Regions from separate parts of the Homo sapiens genome. Here all the other regions are linked to region 2. The links are contacts of gene promoters, found by promoter capture Hi-C in blood cells and fetal thymus (Javierre and others, 2016). All regions are on one chromosome and are shown on one strand. Each heading gives the region's core, a stretch centred on a gene start or on the middle of the fragment in contact. The rest is flanking DNA. Distances are from core to core; before and after follow the strand shown.

Region 1 (2,700 bases), core at 123-2,622, 220 kb after region 2:
AGGCGTGAGCCACTGTACCTGGCCTAAGAGACTTTTTAAGTATTACATGCCTTTAAATTTTTTTTCCTTTTTTTTTGAGACAGAGTCTCCCTCTGTCCCCCAAGCTGGAGTGCAGTGGCACAATTCTGGCTCACTGCAACCTCCGCCTCCCAGATTCAGGTGATTCTCCTGCCTCAGCCTCCCCAGTAGCTGAGATTATAGGCATATGCCACCACACCCGGCTAATTTTTTTTTTGGGGGGTATTTTTAGTAGAGACAGGATTTCACCATATTGGTTAGGCTGGTCTCAAACTCCTGGCCTCAGGTGATCCACCCACCTTGGCCTCCCAAAGTTCTGGGATTACATGTATGAGCCACTGCGCCCGGCCCCTTTTAATTTTTCTTAAAAATTTACTCTGCTTCACCCTACAATCACTTTAACACTTCCACAAGTTTTGCATCTCTGGAAGGAGAAACACAAATGATTAATTCTTTTGATACTTTTGTCTGCAGAAAAATCTGTACCTAATGGTACATCTGATAGTTTGAGGTTTAAAATACTAATAATTCTGTTTTAAAATTCCATCTACTTCCATCCCTTCTCACTTACCCCAATGTCCAAAATCCCACGTCTAGGAGAGTAAAATTAGGACAGGCATCCCTTTTCCCCCAGATATTCACATACATATGTATGTGAACATATACGTGTACATATTTATTTACATTCACTTATACTTAACATGCACTTAAGGTATAGAGCAAAAAAATCTAGATACAGAGGCCATTATCTTGACAATATAATTACTAGGTTTAAGGCCTGGAAAATGCAGCTTACCATGTAAAAATATCTCACCACAAGAAATCAGTAATTTTCAAAGCTGGTAAAACTATCAATTCTACTTAAAAAAATAACTCGAGTCTACAGGTAGGTTGATAGGGTAGATAAATACTAAAATTAATACCAACTGGGTTGCTATTAAGCTTACCTTACAGCTTTGAAAAACTCTGATTTCTTGTGGGTTTCAGTGGTGAGCTGCATTTCCTTAGTTTCAGCCGACTTCCCAGCAGGAATTCGAGTCTGATGAAAAATCAGCAAAAGGAAGCCCTCACTGAGAAACATACTGGTATCATTCACTGAGTGGGGATAGTGAAAAAGGAACATATTTCTAAAGGTAAATTTCCATTAGTAATATATATGCTTATATGGCAAATACATATTTAATTTCTTATGGCAGAAAGAACAATTAATTTTCCTTGAAAACCTGATTGCTTTTTCTACAATGTGTTTGCTTTTACCCTACCTTCCTCTCTGAGATATTCATTAGTCATAGTTCACCCCTTAAGTGCAAGAAATCAAAACAAAAAACCTTTAGGTCTAAATTTGAGCAATAGTTATAAGACATCTTCTGGCAGCAACGCTGGGATCTTATAGCAGAAAAAAAAATTAGTAAAACAAACCTTTATCATTTTTTTGCATCACCTTTATCAACTGGGATACTACCTCTCAAATCTGTGACAAACAAATCTGGAAATCTTGCTTAATCTATATAGAAATAGGTTATAATTTTAAAGTAAATATTTGATAATTTCAAGAAAAAACATGTTTTCTAAAATGTCTTTAACACAGTAATTCACAATAGTATACAATTCTAAAAGCTGACTTAGAAATAGAACTTTGCTTTAAAAACATCCTGAAATACATACCTTTCATTAATTATTCTGAATTATAAGGTCTATCATATTTAAACCTTGTTCTAGACTAGTATTGTCAATAAAGCACCAGTACCCACATGTAGTTAAGCTTAAATTTAAATTAATTAAAATTAAATAAAATAAAAAGTTCAGCTCCTCAGCTGTACTAGCAACCTTATTAGTGTAAAATGGCCATGTGAGGTTAGTGGCTACCTTATGGAACAGCACAGATCCAGAGCTTACTGCAAGAAGTTCTATTGCATAGCATTGCTCTAGACAGAACCTAAATGGGGAGATAGCACAGTTAAAAGGCCTTACCTGGTCTGAGGAGGTGTGGGTGTGTAAAGGGGCTGGGCTGGCCTAAGTATCGGTTTGGAATCCTCCTTTCTGGGACAGGCTGAAGGGAGTACCTTCGCTGTGAACACAACATACATCCTGAATGAAGAATAAAGAGAATGAAATGAAACAATAGATCTAGAAAGTCTTCATGGTATAAATACACTTATCTCTAGCAGTTTAGATGCTTTAGAAAAATGCAAACTAATATTTCCTTCCTTCTCTCCTTCAATATTCATTTATTTTTTTTTTAAGACAGAGTCTCACTCTGTCACCCAGGCTGGAGTCAGTGGCATGATCTCGGCTCACTGCAACCTCCACCTCCTGGGTTCAAGTGATTCTCCTGCCTCAAGCCTCCTACATAGCTGGGATTACAGGTGCGTGCCACCATGTCTGGCTAATTTTTGTAGAGACGGGGTTTAATCCTGTTGGCCAGGCTGGTCTCGAACTCTTGACCTCAAGTGATCCGCCCACCTCGGCCTCCCAAAGTGTTGGGATTACAGGCATGAGCCACTGCACCTGGCCCTCCTTCAATATTTATATGGCCTTTGCTCTGTGTCAGACTCTGTGTTGGGCCTTAGGAAAACAGAAATGAGATCTTTACCCTCAGAGACATTTGTCTGCTATAATATTTTATACACATACACACACACACACACACACACACACGCACACATATATAATAAAGGTATG
Region 2 (2,700 bases), core at 134-2,633:
AAGACACACACAAACACCAAACCTAATGCACATTTTAAACTTTTGTACAATCAGTTCACGTTTGTAGTTCATGATTGGAACTCTTTCAACTTCTAACCTTGATTTCCAGGTACGTAACTCCACAAAATTGTTTATCTTATTTCCCCTAAAATGAGAAAGTGACTGCAAACTGCAAAGAACATGCCCCTGTTCTCCCAACCTAAAAACCCAGAGTTTCAGACATTTTGGTCTCACACCAAAGAACTGGGAGATGTGAAATGAACTGCGCTCCATATTGATTCTTAAAGCAAATAAGAAGAAAAAGGAAAAAAAAGCTAAGAATGGTAGGTAAGATAAAAGAATTGTTAAACTTCACCTCTAACCTGAAATCTTGGACCTCGCACACACAAAATCAAGATTTTTTTACACCCTATTCCTCAACAGAAAATATTCTGCAAAGGAGAGAAAATTTCGAAGAGTGGAAAGTAGAGGAAACACAGTAAGTACAGTAAAGAGAAAGGATTCGAAATTCATTTGCCAAGAACAAAAAAAATGAAACTTAAATTGCATAGGAGCTCTTACACACAAATGCATTGGCATTTCCCAAATTAAATTGCATGAGAGCAACAATACAGGCCATTTCTATATAGCACCCACTTACGAGCTCTAATTCCAGAACACACACCGATATGACATAGTGTTGCAATCAATGTATTAGGAGGCAAAGAAAATGGTTGGGCTACTGGACGTCTTCGACCAGCTCATTCAAATACCTTTAAAATTAATTAAGGGGCAGGGAACTAGAGAGAGAGGAAGAAAAAAAAAATGGAAGAATAAAGGCGCACCGAGTAGAAAAGATTAAAGGGAACGTGGAAGGCCGGGGCTGCCGAAACTAACCTGTGCCATCGCTGGCGGACGCCGAGAGGGCCGGAGATGAGAGTTTAGGCCGCTTGGCTGAAGGCGGCCCCGGTTCCACCACATTCTCGGCCATTTTTAATTCTTTCGGAGATACAAGCGAGGAAAACCAGAATCCTCAGGAAATCTCTTCTTCGGCCCGGGGTCCCCGCGCCGCACCCAGGGGTGGGCTGGGGGGCTCCGACGGCACCCGAGGGGGTGGGGGAAGTTCCTTTTTCTCTTCGCCGGGTCGCAGTGGCTGGAGAGGGATGCGGACTCGATAGAAAAGGTAAGGGCAAGTGCGAGGGGCCGGGCCTGGGCCCAAGCCCGGAGGAGGGCACAAGAGCACAAATTCGCCGAGCGCGTCCGCTGCGGCGAATTCCCGAGAACTCGCGGCTCTAGAGGCGCAGTCCCCGGCCCGCCACGGCCGGCCCCTGCCCAGCCGAGGTCTCTCGGAGCTCCGCCGCCGCCATCAACCTCTTCCTCCTCGGCGCTGTCCTCCTCCTTCTCATCGCCACAAGGAGGCGGGGGCGAAAAGGGGGGAGAGGAGGAGGCGACAAGAGACACTCACCTCCTCCCGGTGCCCCCTCCCGGGCCTGCGCCCCCACCCTCCGAACCCTCCTCCTGCCGCCGCGCTCCGCGCCGCCGCCGCCGCACCGGCCCCTAATGGCCGCAGAGAACTCGCCCGAGCCGAGAGCCAGGCTGGCGCCGCCGCCTCACATCGCGCGGCGGCCGGCGGAGGCGCGGCAAGGACGCCGGGAGCGGAGCTGGCCGGACCAGAGGGCCGAGGGGGCCGGGCCGAGCAGCGCCGCCCGCACGCCCGCGCCGACGCGGAGCCCACCGAGGAGGCCCCGCTCCGGCGGCGGCGCAGGCGGCCCCTCCTCGCGCCGCGCTCCCCTCCTTCGCCTTCCTTTCCCGCGGAAAATAAATAAATACGGCCGCTGCTACGGCCCCCACCGCCGGCGGCCAGGTGCTGGGAGCGCCCGCCCCCCGGGGCTCCGTTCGGGGCCGCCCGCGGCGGCGGGAGAAGACGCCGCGGGGCGCGGGGTTATGTAATGGTCCCCCCTAGGCGTCGACGCCGGCCCGGCTGCTGGACCGCGGTGGGGGTGTGTGCGGACGGGAGGGGGCTGGGGGTCGCCTCAGCCCGTGCGCCCCGGGCCCCCTGCCACTGTCTCGGCCCCTGCCGCCTCTCTCCGACCCGACTCCCCTCCGCACTCTCTGGCTCCCGCAGTTAGCACTCAGCCCGGCGTCCTGCTTGCCCACTCTCGCCCGCTCTCTCTCGCCCTCTCTCCCCCCCAGCCTAGCACACAAACAAGATGGCGGCTGTTGTTTCTTCCCTCTGCCGAATCCTCCTTACAGGCTAGCGGTAGCGGCGGCGGCCGGAAATGAGCCAAGGGGGGGTGGAAAAGGGGAGTGGCCGGGCCTCCGGAGGGGGGCGGGGCCTAGGCCCGAGCCGCTCACACAATGGGGGAAGTGGAGCCGGGGGCGGGGCCTGTCCCAATCACGGGATCCGCCCTAGGCCCCAACGCGGTTAGCGCTTCCGCAAACTCCCCCGGCGTCACCCTGTGGCTCCCTTTAAAGGGGAGGATTTTAAGAGTGGGGAGGATTTTAAGGGGGGAGGGGCGGGGGCGGACTCAGAATCTATTTTCAGTCGGTGGATAGTTACGAGGGAAGGTTCCTGCCTTTGGTCTCTGCGTAAGGGACCAGTGGGAACCGGGACGACGGAACCCCGGAGCTGCTCCGAGGAAGGCGCCAAGTCGCCACTCAGGTGGCCAAATGGGAGCGCCCGTAGGGCGGCCCTGCTCTTCGGCCCTTGGGTGGCGGGTC
Region 3 (2,700 bases), core at 33-2,532, 180 kb after region 2:
CTGGCTATTCACAAGCTTGTTCCCATTACTGATCAGTATGAGAGTTGTGACCTGCTCTGTTTCTGACCTGGGCCAGTTCAGCCCTCCTTAGGTAATGTGCAAAAACCTCTAACTGGTTGCAGACACCTGATCAACATAGTGGACTGCAGCTTAGAACTCTTGGACTCAAGTGATCCTCCTGCCTCAGCCTCCTGAGTAGCTGAGACTATAGGTGCATGCCACTATGCTTGGTCATTGTGGGGTTTTTTTCTTTTTCTTTTTTTTTGCGACAGGGTCTGGCTCTGTCACCCAGGCTGGATTGCAATGGTGCAATCTTGGCTCACTGCAACCTCTGTCTCCTGGGCTCAAGCAATTCTCCCACCTCAGCCTCTTGAGTAGCTGGGACTACAGGCATGTGCCACCACGCCTGGCTAATTTTTTTGTAAAGACCAGGTTTCACTATGCTGCCCATGTTGGTCTTGAACTCCTGAGCTCAAGTGATCCTCCTGTCTTTCCTCCCAGTGTGCTGGGATTACATGAGGCACCTCGCCTGGCTGTCCTTTGTGTTTTAAAGATATTTTTATCACCCAAATATTCACCCCAAGATAATTTTCTTTGTGTTCATTTGTAATATATTTGATATAACTAAAATCTCTTTTAGTTAGTAGGCTCCTCCTCCACCTCTTTTCATTTCCTTGTAATTTATTTGTTAAAGAATCCAGGCTGCTTGACATACAGAGTTTATCAGTCTAGATTTTGGGCAGTTACAGACTGAATGTTTGTGAATTAGGAGGTAATTATTTTGAGGTAACAAATACTACCTAGTGTTTGGTTTTGTTAGCTAGTTGCTCTATGTTTATTTGACAATTTGGAAAGTTTGAAAAACTATCCTGCTGCTGCCATCTTCCCACAATCTCTGGTTCTTTTTTGTTTCTATTTCTCATTGAGATTCTCCATCTGTTTGCTCATTATGTCTACATCTTCCTTTAACTTATCTATAACAGCTACTTTAGAGTCTTTCTGCTAATTGGAACATTAGGATCATTTCTTTCTTTTTTTTTTTCCTTTGTTTGAGATGGAGTCTCACTCTGTCGCCCAAGCTGGAGTGCAGTGGTACAATCTCGGCTCACTGCAACCTCCCCTTTCCCGGTTCAAGCGATATTCCTGCCTCAGCCTCCCGAGTAGCTGGGATTACAGGTGCCCGCCACCACACTCAGCTAATTTTTGTATTTTTAGTAGAGACAGGGTTTCACATTTTGGCCAGGCTGGTCTTGAACTCCTGACTTCAAGTAATCTGCCCACCTCGGCCCCCCAAAGTGCTAGAATTACAGGCATGAGCCACTGCACCTGGCCAGGATTATTTCATTATCAGATTTTCTTGATTACAGGTCACAATTACCAGTTTCTTCTCATGTCTAGAAATTTTGTTAACTTGGATAGCTTCAAACTACAAACTCTGTTCTCACTGGGAAGCAACTAAAATCTCTGCTCAGTTTATTCTGCTTCTAGCTGCTCGTATTTTGCTGAGCCTCATGAGGCCTCCTCAGAACACATAGTTCAGTAATCAGCCAAGGATTTTTAAATATTCTGTATGCAGATTTTGGGGCTCAGAGTTTCCACAAGCCCTTCTCGTCAAGGATTTTCCTTCATCTTTCTGGCTATTCTGTCAGCACCTAAATCTATCATTTGATATCTTAAATCAATAAGGCTGTGGCTTTCTGCCGCCCAAGCTATGTGCATTGGGCAATGTCCTCAGGCAAAAAGCCCTTATCACCATTTTTATCCATTATAGTTTTTCTTTTTTTTTTTTTTCAGATAGAGTCTCACTCTGTCACCCAGGCTGGAGTGCAGAGTCCAATCTTAGCTCACTGCAACTTCCGTCCCCTGGGTTCAAGCGATTCTCCTGCCTTAGCCTCCCGAGTACCATTCCCAGGCTAATTTTTGTATTTTTAGTAGAGACAGGGTTTCACCATTTTGGTCAGGCTGGTCCTGAACTCCTGACCTCAGGTGCTCTGCCTGCCTTGGGCTCCCAAAGTCCTGGGATTACAGGTATGAGCCACCAGGCCTGGCCCATTATAGTTTTTTAAGAATGGACTTGTACTTGGCTAACACGGTGAAATCCCATCTCTACGAAAAATACAAAAAATTAGCCAGGCGTGGTGGTGGGTGCCTGTAGTCCCGCTACTCGGGAGGCTGAAGCAGGAGAATGATGTGAACCTGGGAGGTGGAGCTAGCAGTGAGCCGAGATCATGCCACTGCACTCCAGCCTGGGTGCCAGAGCGAGACTCCGTCTCAAAAAAAAAAAAAAAAAAAGAATGGACTTGTACAATTTCTGCCTATTTTTGAAAGCTCTCTGGTGCCTTTTATTTTGATTTTTTTCATGTCAGATGGGTAATGTGCTGACCTTGTAAGAAGGTTTGAGGGTAGCACATCTCATACCTGCACGTGAACACCCAATCATCACACTCATGAGCTACAAAGGGATCTCTAGTGCCTTTAAATAGTTATTTTTAATATTTTGTCCAGATTTTATAATTATTATCTATGGAGGATTAATCCAATCAAGCTTTCTACCATAACCTGAATATTACTTCTGTATTTTAAAAAATCAACTTTATTTTTTAAAAAATGTCTGTGAGTCAGGCATGGTGGCAATGTGCCTATAGTCCCAGCTACTTAAGAGGTCTGAGAAGAGAGGATCACTTCAGGACAGAGTTCGAG

What was found. Contacts are between HindIII fragments. The CHiCAGO score rates a contact against its expected background, and 5 or more counts as called.
Region 1: a contact is called between a fragment that was not itself captured here and the fragment with the promoter of EP300 in region 2, in 4 of 17 cell types (endothelial precursors, M2 macrophages, erythroblasts and 1 more). The highest score is 6.1, in endothelial precursors.
Region 3: a contact is called between a fragment that was not itself captured here and the fragment with the promoter of EP300 in region 2, in 16 of 17 cell types (megakaryocytes, M2 macrophages, naive B cells and 13 more). The highest score is 15.4, in megakaryocytes.

Annotation. Positions count from the first base shown.
Region 1 is chr22:40,868,405-40,871,104 of GRCh38, reverse strand. It overlaps XPNPEP3 (X-prolyl aminopeptidase 3), which reads right to left. Exons shown (of 10, transcript NM_022098.4): 2 at 1,990-2,106. Among named protein-coding and RNA genes, the nearest start is that of DNAJB7, 7.6 kb to the right of the region's middle. The HindIII fragment of the contact is 820 bases long and covers 963-1,782 here.
Region 2 is chr22:41,091,275-41,093,974 of GRCh38, reverse strand. It overlaps EP300 (EP300 lysine acetyltransferase), which reads right to left and starts at 1,383. Exons shown (of 31, transcript NM_001429.4): 1 at 877-1,383. The coding sequence starts at 970. MIR1281 (microRNA 1281) reads right to left here and starts at 1,462; the gene lies at 1,409-1,462. RefSeq lists an enhancer at 693-932 and silencers at 1,043-1,142, 1,323-2,092, 2,193-2,482. The HindIII fragment of the contact is 3,482 bases long and covers 1-2,700 here.
Region 3 is chr22:40,914,643-40,917,342 of GRCh38, reverse strand. The region is part of intron 7 of XPNPEP3 (X-prolyl aminopeptidase 3); the gene reads right to left. LOC124905157 (small nucleolar RNA U13) reads right to left here and starts at 2,464; the gene lies at 2,361-2,464. The HindIII fragment of the contact is 2,530 bases long and covers 18-2,547 here.